4 separate regions of the Homo sapiens genome follow, and all the other regions are linked to region 3. The links are contacts of gene promoters, found by promoter capture Hi-C in blood cells and fetal thymus (Javierre and others, 2016). All regions are on one chromosome and are shown on one strand. The core of a region is centred on a gene start or on the middle of the fragment in contact, and the rest is flanking DNA. Distances in the headings are between cores, read along the strand shown.

Region 1 (2,700 bases), core at 24-2,523, 270 kb before region 3:
AGAATCACTGAAGGTTTTTCTACAGGGTGAGGTTACTGTATGAGAAACTGAGGAGAGACTTCCCTGGCCTCCTGTCTAACAGTAATAATGACTTAAAAAGCAAAACTGTCAGCCAGGTGCAGTGGCTCATGCCTGTAATCCCAGCACTCTGGGAGGCTGAGGTGGGAGGACTGCCTGGGTCCAGGAGTTCAAGACCAGCGTGGGCAATGTTTGGTGAGGCTCTGTCTCTACAAAAAGGTTTTTTTTTTTTTTTTAACAAATTGGCTGGGCGTGGTGGCATGCACCTGTGGTCCCAGCTACTTGGGAGGCTGAGAAGGGAGGATCACTTGAGCTTGGGAGGTCAAGGCTTCAGGGAGCTATGTTTGCACCACAGCACTCCAGCCTGAGTGCCTGAGTGACAGAGCAAGACCTTGTCTCAAAAAAAAAAAAAAAAAAGCAAAATTGTCAGTGTAAAAATAGACAGCATTGAGAGTTGGGATTCTCTTCCCAATTAAGTTCAGCCACTTATGGGTAGTCAAATGTCTGAAGTCAATGTGGGCCCAGGAATCTGTCTTGAGTCTTGCTAGAAACAGGAGGCCCTGTTTGAGTGCTGCATCTGTAAAACCAAAAAGGGTGATCAGTGGGGTGATCTGTTCTGGAGTCTACTCATACATACCTCAAGAGTTGGAAAAATCTTTAAAAATCATCTATTCTCAGCAAGTTCTATTCTACACCATCCCTGAAAAGAGCGACAAGTAGCTAGCTAGTTGACCACTTACTACAAAATCAGTATCTACTTCCTGGTAGCTTACAGAGGAGGGTCCTAGATCTGCTTTCTATAACTAAAGAGAACAAGTTTATTTCCTGCCAAAAATTGCTATTTTTATCAGAAAACTGTCCAACTTCTCCTTTATCTTTTTTTTTTTTTAACCTAGACACAGCAGCATTAACTTTTCCTTCCAATTGCTCTTCTCTCAATTTCCTTTACTTTGTCAACAGCCCTAAAGCCTGGCTCCCAAACTGAACCCCAGATACAGTCTACACAGAACCTGTATCCATGGAATTGTAACATTCCATGACCCGCACATCATACCATTAATGCACTGTCAGACGGCACTTTTCTTTTTAAGCAACTAAATTATACCAAGGCTAATATTGGGCCTCCCTGTCTCTTACTTGCAGACTGTTGCTTAGCATATCTCTTCAGCCTTGACTTATAGTCAAGGACTAGCCTAATATTTCCTAATTTTCCTTGTGATTTACTATTTGACTTATGGATTATTTGGAAGTGTAATGTTTAATTTCAAATTTTTGGGGATTTTTCAGCTATCTTTTTGTCATGAATTTTTAATTTAATTCTGTTGTGGTGAGAGAACATAATTTGTATGAGTTAAATCCTTTTAAATTATTGAAACTTGTTTTATGGCCCAGAATATAATCAATCTTGATAAAGATTCCATATGCACTTGGAAATAGTGTTTTCTGTTGTTGGGTGGAGTGTTTTATAAATGTCAATTAAATCAAGTTGATTGTTCAAGTCTCCTGTATCCTTACTGATTTTCTGTATATTTGTTTTACCCATTATAGAGACAGAGGTATTGAAATCCCCCTACTATAATTGTGTATTTGTGTTTTTCTCATTTTAGGTTGGTCAGTTTTGTTCATGTATTTTGAAACTGTTATTGGGTTCATACACATCTGGGATTATTATATCAGCTTGGTGAAGTGACCTTTTATTGTGATGAAATACCCTCTCTACCTTGGGTTTACTTGTTCTGATGTTAACTATGTCTGTCTCCTCCTTTGATTAGTGTTAGCATGAAAAAGGAGTACTTACTATATGATTCCATTTTTATGAAATTCTAGAACTGCCAAACTAACCTGCAGTGACAGAAAGTAGATCAGTGGTGTCTGAGAATGAGGGTGTAGGGAGAGACAGGTTAGGAAGGGACACTGGGAACCTTCTGGACATGATCAAAATGTCTGTCATCTTGAATGTGGTGATGGTTTCTTGGGTGTAGGTATATGTAAAACTTAATCAAACTGTTCACGTTAAATATATGCTGTTTATTACATATCAGTTATACCCCAATAAAGCTGTGTGTGTTTTTTTTTAATACAATACTATTAGTACACTTTGGTCCCACTGTCTCGACACTAGCAGTTTTGTTCACCATTGCATTTGTATTATCAGTGCAAATGTCAACACTGTGAAATAAGCAAGTATCATCTTAGAAGTATTATGAAAATAATTTTGATCTCAAAGATCCTCTGAAAGGGTGTCAGGGACCCCCAGGGGTCTATGGGCCACTCTGGTTTACAACATCACAACTGTAATTACTCTATTTTTTTCTGTTCTGACTCCTCCTCTAAGTAATTCTAAAACAGTTTCTTATGAAAATACATTTTAAATCATACTCCAGATTAAAATTAAAATACTTTAATCATGTTCACAAACATTTTATAAGTTAAAATTATATAAGGATAGCATTTAAGACCCTCCCAAGTATGGCTGATGCCGCCTGTCTGCTCCACGCAAGGCCCTGTCCAATCTCCCCACTGACCTATGTTCTCTCTTCCCTCCTGGCCTCTGCTCATGCCCCCTTCAATTTCTGCCTGTTAAAGTTCTATGTTTTAGGGCCTGGCTCAGGTTCAGCCTTGGCTATGAAGCCTTCTCAACCGCTTGTCCCCATATCCATCTGTCCCTTGCCTTCCTTCCTA
Region 2 (2,715 bases), core at 34-2,533, 310 kb before region 3:
ACTAATTTTGCATCTTTTTGTCTGTGTTTCCCAGCTCAGCAGCGCAAAAATGATTATATAATCACCGGAGGTGGATTTTTGAGGTGCAAGAATATCATTCATGTAATTGGTGGAAATGATGTCAAGAGTTCAGTTTCCTCTGTTTTGCAGGAGTGTGAAAAAAAAAATTACTCATCCATTTGCCTCCCAGCCATTGGGACAGGTTCGTAGCCTCTGGCTGTCAAGGCTAAATCCCAAGCCATCTACTTTCCCTTTCATTTGGAGCTGAGTGTGAATGCGGTCAGTGCTGAGTCTGACCCAGGGCAGCAACCATTAAGCTAGGAGTGGACAGCTTCCTCCCCATAAGACAACTCCCAAGGGAATGACAAAGCCTGTGGATTGTTTGAGTAAAAGAGGGACAAAATGCAGGAGACTGAAGAGAGTGTTAGAATGTTAGAGAGGCAGAAAGAAGGGAAGGGAAAATAAGGAGGAGAAGAGAAGGGAGAGAGTGGAAAGGCCATCCCTCATTCTCTTTCCTCAGTTACTTTCCCTTTTTCCATTCCCTACATATTCTCCATTATGCAGTCCTTAGCTTCCTCCTCTTTCCCCTCTCCATGGAGAATATTAGTACAACAACTTCCACCTCACTCTAGCTGATTCCCAGAGGAATATTACCAGGCTTCAGCTCAACAGTCAGCTGTGTCACTTGGCCTCAGGGCATTTCTGTGTAGAAGCTTCTCAGTCACCAGAACCTAGTGGGTCAGAAACTCAACTCTCCACTTTCCTCTTTTCAGCCTACTTGCTTCTTTGATTTTCTTCTTTTCCTAAAACTAGGTAATGATAGCGTGATTTTTCATATATAAGGATGGCGCTCTGGATTTATCATTAATTAGGTGGTTTTTTTTTTTTAATTATACTGGGGTACATGGGCAGAATGTGCAGTTTTGTTGCACAGGTGTTCTTTGAGCTCTTTAGGAATCCCTGCTTGGTCTCCTTCAGAGAGCTGGTCAGGGGAGGCATGCATTCTTAGGCTTGAAGTCAACGGAGCTGCCTTGTTCCAGTGCGAGAATAGTCAGCATCGGATCTGTCATTCTGTTGCTCGGGAATCTAAGTTTGAATCTCTTATGCTGGCATTCTAGGCTTTCCAAAAGGTTATCCTCAATAAACTTAACCATCCTTGTCAATTTCTGGGCCTTCTTCTAACCCTCTGACCCATATCTGTAATTCTGTACCATTTCTTATAATGTTCCGAGATGGAATTCTATGTCTATTTTACAACTTTTCTATTTCTAAAAGTATAATTTTTGATCCCTTTGTTTTCATTCCCCTTAGAGTATCATCTATTCCTAGCAGATTAGCCAACATTTCTCCTATCTCTCTCTACCAGTCATCTATCTATCTATCTATCTATCTATCTATCTATCTATCTATCTATCTATCTATCTATCGATCTGTCTATCTATCTCTATCATCTCTCTACTGACTTATCTTTTATGGACACCCACCAATGACTCCTCAGTCTCTGTCTCCATCTGTTTTTTTCTCTGAGCTCTAGTCTTGGGTTTCCACCTTCAGTTGATTTGGGCCAAGAAAGCAAGCAGCTTAGGGGTGCCACAGACCTTCCCAAAGGAGTCCCTGGTAGAGTCAAAAGAAGAAACAAAGAAAGAAGGTAGGTTTCGTTTTGTATAAATATGTACACATTTGAGCATTTCTGGACTCAATTCTGGACTCAACAACAAATCCTGTTGTTTCTTCCACTGACCTGGTTGCATTGCTGGTCAGCACAAATAAATCAGGGTTAGTGGGTTATCCTTGCATGTCCTCTTTACCTATCTTTATCACCACCTGAGCTGGTTCTGAGACTGATAGATGTAGAAGCTTTCTCTTTTAGTGGTGTATATGAGTTGAATTAAGACTGTGATCAAGACAGCCTCTGGCAGTTAAAGGAGCCTCCTCTCTGTTCCTTAAAGACACCTGCATAAGAGGAGAGATTAGGTGGTTAGCAATACCTGTGATCACCTCAAGCTCAACGCAGACTCCAAACTCTCATTCCTTGTCATCTCCCCAAACCTGCCCTTCCTCTTATATCCCCAATCACGTGAAAAACATCACTTTCCATCTAGAGTCCTTGACTCTACCCTCTTCGTCACTCCGATCTTCATTAGCTTAGGAATTATTTGATTGAATATTTACTGAGTGCCTGCATCTGCAAGGCACCATGTTTAGGCTCTGGAGATAGAAAGATAACTAAGAAAAGGATCCAGTTCACAAGGAGCACTGAGCCCAGTGTGAGAGACAGGCATGCAAACAAACAACTGCAATGCAACGTGAACCATGATATAGTGAAGGTATGTGTATGGCAAAAGACAGAGAGGGAAAGGTGAAGGACAAACCCAGCTGGTCCCTAGGTACTCCTGACTTTACTTCCAAAATAGCTCCTCAATCCCTATTCTTCATTCTGGCCTCCTCTTTTTGTTCAGCTCTTGTCTTTTGACTAAGCTTTTATTACAGCGTCCTAACTAGACCTGGGCTCCCCGCTCCATGCTTCCTCCATACCCCTCCAGACTTAACTTCCTCAAAACTAGGTCTGTTCTGCATACGTGCCAGGCTGAACATATACCCATTACATAGTTCCATCTGGCATAGCCTTTCCCTCAATTTTCCATATTTCACCTGTTGATCACCTGTTCATCCCCGCATATCACATCATCTGTGTTCTAGCAAGTGCCTAGTGAG
Region 3 (2,700 bases), core at 108-2,607:
GCGGCGGGCAGTCGGAACTACCCAAAGACTGGGCTCGAGGTGGGGGGCGGGGGCGGGGAGGAGGGGGCCAGAACGGCGCTGCAGGTGATCCTCCTCCTTGTTTAAAGTTTGCGGTGGGCAAAGGAGTCGGCTCCGTTGGGCCGGGTTTTCTCGAGCCTCGCCTTCTTCCTCCGCCGGTCCGGCGACCACTTCCCTCTTGGCTCCCGCCCCGCGCGGGTCCCCGATCCCCTCTCCCGTCTGCATCCCTCTCTGTGCCCGAGCGCCCCCCGCTCCCTCCCTCCTCGCTGGATCTCCCGCAGGACGTGAGCGGAAAGTGAATGGGCAGCCCCAACCACAAAGACAAATTACCATGAGAAACATAAATCGGGAAATCGCCGCTCGCGTCCCTGCTTCCAGCTGCCGCACCCCTCTCCACCCTCCCAGCCGGGAGTGCGGGGCCCTGAGCCACTGCCCCTGGAGCCTGGTGGGCAGAGTTCACGCTCCGCAGGCCTGGTCAGGGCAAGAGTGTCCTGGAGGCGGGTCTGGGAAGAATCCGGGCGGCGGCTCCGCAGGCGGCGGCGGTGGAGCAGGGACGTCCCTGAGCGGGAGATTTCACACTCTGGGCGGGCCACGCGTTCCCACGCGCCTCGCCGCCCGCACTCTCCCTCAGTGCTGTTTACTAGCCGGCCCTCTCTGAGCCTCCATCTCCGCACCTCTGTCCCTCCGTCCCTCAGCCTCACTCGTCCGTCTCCTTCTCCAGGCCTGGGTCCCGGGTCCCCATCGCCGCTGCAGCCCAGATGCGCCGACCACAGCCCTGGCAGGGCCCAGTGCAACCCGGACCCAAGCTGGCTGGCGGCGGGAACGCAGCAGCGATGAGGGCTCTCAAGCCGAGGTGGCAGCGGGAGGCGCGGAAGCCAGGGGACCCCCTGTCCTCCCGCCCGCAGCCTCACCTACCTGGCTTCAACTTGCCAGAGCCCGGACCCCTACCTCTCTACCCCGATACCCACCCGAGTTGCTGAAGTTTGCAAGTTGCAGCCCCAACCCGCGCAGGGGAAGCGCCCGGGGCTCCCGGGACTCACCTCCCAGAGGCGGGTGCAGGTGCCCGGTTCCCCGCGGCTCCCGACTCCCGGGCGGCGCGGAGCGGCGGGAGCTAACCAGATGGGCTGGCGGCCGGTCTGGGAATGGGGCGGCCGCGCAGGAACGGCCTCCAGCTCTCAGCGCTCCGGTGCAGTCCCCACCCGGGCCCGCGCCCGCTGCGCTCGGGCTCCCAGCAGCCGCTGGATGCGCTGCCGACCCGCCCGGCTCGGCGGAGCTGGGCTCTGGCACCAACCCCCGCGCTCCAACTAGCTCCCGACCCGGCGCTCGGAGAGAGCAGGGAGGAGGAGACCGCGGGAGCAGAAGGAGGGAGGGGGCGGTGGGGGAGGAGTTGCAAGCAAAGGGAGAGAAGGAGGGGAGCGGGAGCGAAAAAGAGGAGGGGGCTGGAGCAGACCTGCCGCGGCGGGCGCTGCACCCGCCAGCCTCGAGGCGCGCGGAGGAGCGCGAGGGGGCGCCCTGCATCCCGCGGCTGCTCGGCCGACTCCCGCCCCGGGCCTGCCGAGTGTGGTGACCAGCCCGGTGGGCCGAAGCCCCTTCCCCGGCCGGCATTCCGGCGGCAAGACCTAGGACTCCGAGCACTTGCCGCCGTTTGCCACATCCCGCCTTGCCGTTCTCGGTCACCCCATCTCGAATGTGACATCCCCGAGGGCCATCGGCGCGGCCTGCCCACCCCAACACTCAGGGCCTGAGGAAGCTCCCCCAAACCCCACTCCGGACTCCCACATTCCCCAGCCCCGTCAGTTCGGAACGATCTTCCTGCCTGTGGATTTGAAGGGGAAGGGACCTCGTGTAAAACGGGGGAGAGCCGTTATAACCTGCAGCGGCAGAGAGGGAGGCTAGGCTGCTGGGCTGGGCTGGAAAGCCAGAACTGGCCGGATTAGGGTTAACCTTGCAAACTGTACGATACCGAGCGAACCTCTCCAAGCCTCAGTTTCCTCAGCTGTAAACTGGGGTTAGTAATACGCACCCTACAGAATTGTGAAGAACGAGTAGGGGATACGGGGAGTAAAATAACATCAGGAACAGTGGGAGGGCAGCCAAGAGATGAGCGATCCGGGGAGGTGGTGGAGCGTTCTCAGCTGAGGACGGAAGGTTTAGCGCAATCACAAGGAGCGAGGCCGAATTGTTTACAAGTTTAAGTGATCTAGTGTTTCTGATGGCTAGAAGGCGGGAGAGAAAGATTCAAGGGGCAAGCTTCAAATCCTAGCTGCCCGGGCTGCAAGAGGGATGGGAAGGGAGCCCTCTGCTGAACAAAAAATATATTTGAAAATGTAAAAAAAGGTGACCTAAGAACGAGTGAGAAAGACAAAGGATTTGAAAAATTAAAACCAGGAAAGTGTGATTCTAAGAGATAACCAAAGAGAACTATGAAATAAAAATAGATAAGTTGGAGGAAGGAAAATATCAAAAGACTTTCTAGAGTATGCCAAAAATTGGATAATTAGAACAAAGTCTGAGTGAAGCATTTTACATAATAAAATTCTGGGTAAAGGAAAACCCAGATAAAGCAGAAGAATTGAGACACTAAGAGCCCCAGAGAAGCACCTCCTGCCTGCCATCCTCCTACCCCTGGACCATGGCAAGAAGCAGTTTGACAGGATAATGGGAAAGAAAGGGTGGTTCTGA
Region 4 (2,700 bases), core at 95-2,594, 290 kb before region 3:
AGTCATGGCCTTAAGTATGAATCACCTTATGATATTTTCTCCAATCTTTTCCATTATTTGACATGTTTAAAGTTTTTTTTTTAAAGTACCACATACAGAGGAATAATCCCTATAGAGTCTGACAAGCAAATTATTTCAGAGATGGAAGAAAAATTACAATAAACATGCTTGGCTACAAGAATGAGATGGCTATCCATCTAAACGTGGCTTTAAGACAGAGTAAATATAAGGTATAGCATTAATGAGGAACTGCATTAAAATCAACAACTTCTGTTTACGAAAAAACACCACAAAGGAAAAAAACAAACTAGATGCCTGTAACATATATAACTGATAAAATATTAATGTGTAGAATAATCTACACATATCAATAAGAGAAATGAGCAAATTTTAAAAAATGGGCAAAAGACACAATGATAAGCATTTTAAAAAGGAGCAATCAGAGGACTAATAAACATATGAAGATATGTTTAGCCTCCAGGGAAGTGCAAATTGAGAAATCCATGAAATTGGCAAAAAGGGGCCTGATAGTTCCAAGTGGGACATTGAGAGACAAAAGTCTTATACACTAATGGGAAAGCAAACTGATAGAGACATTTGGAAAACATGGGTGGCATTATCTCGTAAACTTGAGTATTGTATACCCTATGGACCAGCAATACCACTCTGAGATTTATACACAGTCTAGATAAACTTTTGCACATGTGTGCCAGGAAACATGTACAAGAATATTCTGTTCATAGAAGCAAAAAATTGAACACTGAATCATCCATCAATAGAACAATGAATAATATATAAATTATTATAAATATAATAAATTATTGATATATATACATATATTAATATATGAATAGTAACTAAAATAGTAACAATGAATAAATATTAATAATGAATAAATTATGGGCTACCTTAACACAGTATTATATCACAGTGAAAAGGAATGAACAGCTTACATGTGACAACACAAATGAATCTTAGAAACACAATATTGAACTTAAAAAAGCAAATCTCCATGATGAGATATGACTTCACACCAGGATAGTGCTAATAAAAAAAAGACAGATATTAACAAGTGTTGGTGAGGATGCAGAGAAATCAGAATCTTCATACATTGCTGGTGGGAATGTAAAATGGTGCTTCAGAAACCTGGGAGTTCCTCAAAAGGTTAAACACAGAGTTACCATATGTAATGATTAATTTTGAGTCAAGGTGGCTAGACAATAGCACCCAGTTGTTTGGTCAAACAATAATCTGGATGTTGCTGTGAAGATAACTTGAAGATATTATTAGCATTTACAATCAACTGACTTTATGTAAAGGAGATTATACTCAATAATGTATGTGGTCCTTACCCAATTAGTTGAAGTCCTTAAGAGCAAAAACTGAGATGTCTTAGAGAAAAAAATTCTGCCTCAAGACTGTAATAGAAGTCCTATGTGAGTTTCCAGCCTGCCAGCCTGCCCTACAAATTTCAGACATGCCAGCCACTACAATCAAGTAAGCCCATTCCTTAAAGTAAATCTCAATCTCTTGTTCTCTATATAAATACAGACATTTCTATCTATGTATTTATAGATATCTACATTTACGTACATGTAGACATCATGTAAAGATATCTATCTACGTATATACTCATACGAATGGGATTACTGGATCATATGGTGTATCGGAGTTCCTCAGAGAAACAGAACCAACAGAAGATACAGTCAGATAACCAGATACAGACATAACACATAACATTAGATTCATTATATACCATAAGATTTAGCCAGGCTATAGCATGCATCAGTATTTCATTCCTTGTGATAGTTGAAAAACATTCCATTGTACACATATACCACATTTTGTTTATCCACTCATCAGATGATTGATATTTGAGTTGTGTCACTTTGGGCTATTATGAATACTACTACTGTAAACATTCGTGTAGAAGTTTTTGTGTGGGCCAGGCACGGTGGCTCACACCTGTAATCCTGGCATTTTGGGAGGCCAAGGCGGGTGGATCACCTGAGGTCAGGAGTTCGAGACCAGCTTCAACTTGGAGAAACCCCGTCTCTACTAAAAATACAAAATTAGCTGGGCCTGGTGGTGCATGCCTTTAATCCCAGCTACTCAGGAGGCTGAAGCAGGAGAATTGCCTGAACCTGGGAGGCGGAGGTTGCGGTGGGCCGAGATCGAGCCATTGCACTCCAGCCTGGGCAACAAGAGCGAAACTTTGTCTCAAACAACAAAAAAAAAAGTTTTTGTGTGGACATATATTTTCATTTTTCTTGGGTATACACCTAGGAATGGAATTGCTGGGTCATATGGTATATCAGTCAAGGTTCTCCAAAGAAAGAGAACCAATAGAAAAAAATATATATGTGTGCATATGTGTACAGAGATAAGACAGATGGATAGATGGACAGATAATGTGACAAAACTTTTTTGTTTAAACAAGAGAATGAGGAGAGTGAACGGAACAGACAGGAAAGGGATTGGGAAGAACACAGCACAAATGCAAGTTACTGATAAAATTCTAGGCTGGGCATGGTGGCTCATGCCTGTAATCCCAGCACTTTTGGAGGCCAAAGTGGAAGTACTGCTTGAGGCCAAGAGTTTGACGCTGCAGTGAGCTATGACTGCACCACTGCACTCCAGCCTGGGCAACAGAATGAGATTCCATCTCTAAAAAATAAAAAAATAAAAAATTCTAGTTTT

What was found. Contacts are between HindIII fragments. The CHiCAGO score rates a contact against its expected background, and 5 or more counts as called.
Region 1: a contact is called between a fragment that was not itself captured here and the fragment with the promoter of SEMA5B in region 3, in 9 of 17 cell types (M2 macrophages, naive CD4 T cells, naive B cells and 6 more). The highest score is 11.5, in M2 macrophages.
Region 2: a fragment that was not itself captured here is called in contact with the fragment with the promoter of SEMA5B in region 3 in 1 of 17 cell types (M0 macrophages); the score reaches 5.6 in M0 macrophages.
Region 4: a fragment that was not itself captured here is called in contact with the fragment with the promoter of SEMA5B in region 3 in 2 of 17 cell types (M2 macrophages and M1 macrophages); the score reaches 12.3 in M2 macrophages.

The regions. Positions count from the first base shown.
Region 1 is chr3:122,761,378-122,764,077 of GRCh38, forward strand. All of the region lies in intron 3 of HSPBAP1 (HSPB1 associated protein 1), which reads right to left. Among named protein-coding and RNA genes, the nearest start is that of HSPBAP1, 31 kb to the right of the region's middle. The HindIII fragment of the contact is 5,963 bases long and covers 1-2,700 here.
Region 2 is chr3:122,714,228-122,716,942 of GRCh38, forward strand. PARP14 (poly(ADP-ribose) polymerase family member 14) reads left to right here. Exons shown (of 17, transcript NM_017554.3): 12 at 35-202. Among named protein-coding and RNA genes, the nearest start is that of PARP14, 35 kb to the left of the region's middle. The HindIII fragment of the contact is 1,144 bases long and covers 712-1,855 here.
Region 3 is chr3:123,026,406-123,029,105 of GRCh38, forward strand. It overlaps SEMA5B (semaphorin 5B), which reads right to left and starts at 1,358. Exons shown (of 23, transcript NM_001031702.4): 1 at 1,059-1,358. RefSeq lists an enhancer at 1,962-2,469. The HindIII fragment of the contact is 2,453 bases long and covers 1-2,266 here.
Region 4 is chr3:122,741,345-122,744,044 of GRCh38, forward strand. The region is part of intron 6 of HSPBAP1 (HSPB1 associated protein 1); the gene reads right to left. Among named protein-coding and RNA genes, the nearest start is that of HSPBAP1, 51 kb to the right of the region's middle. The HindIII fragment of the contact is 2,946 bases long and covers 1-2,700 here.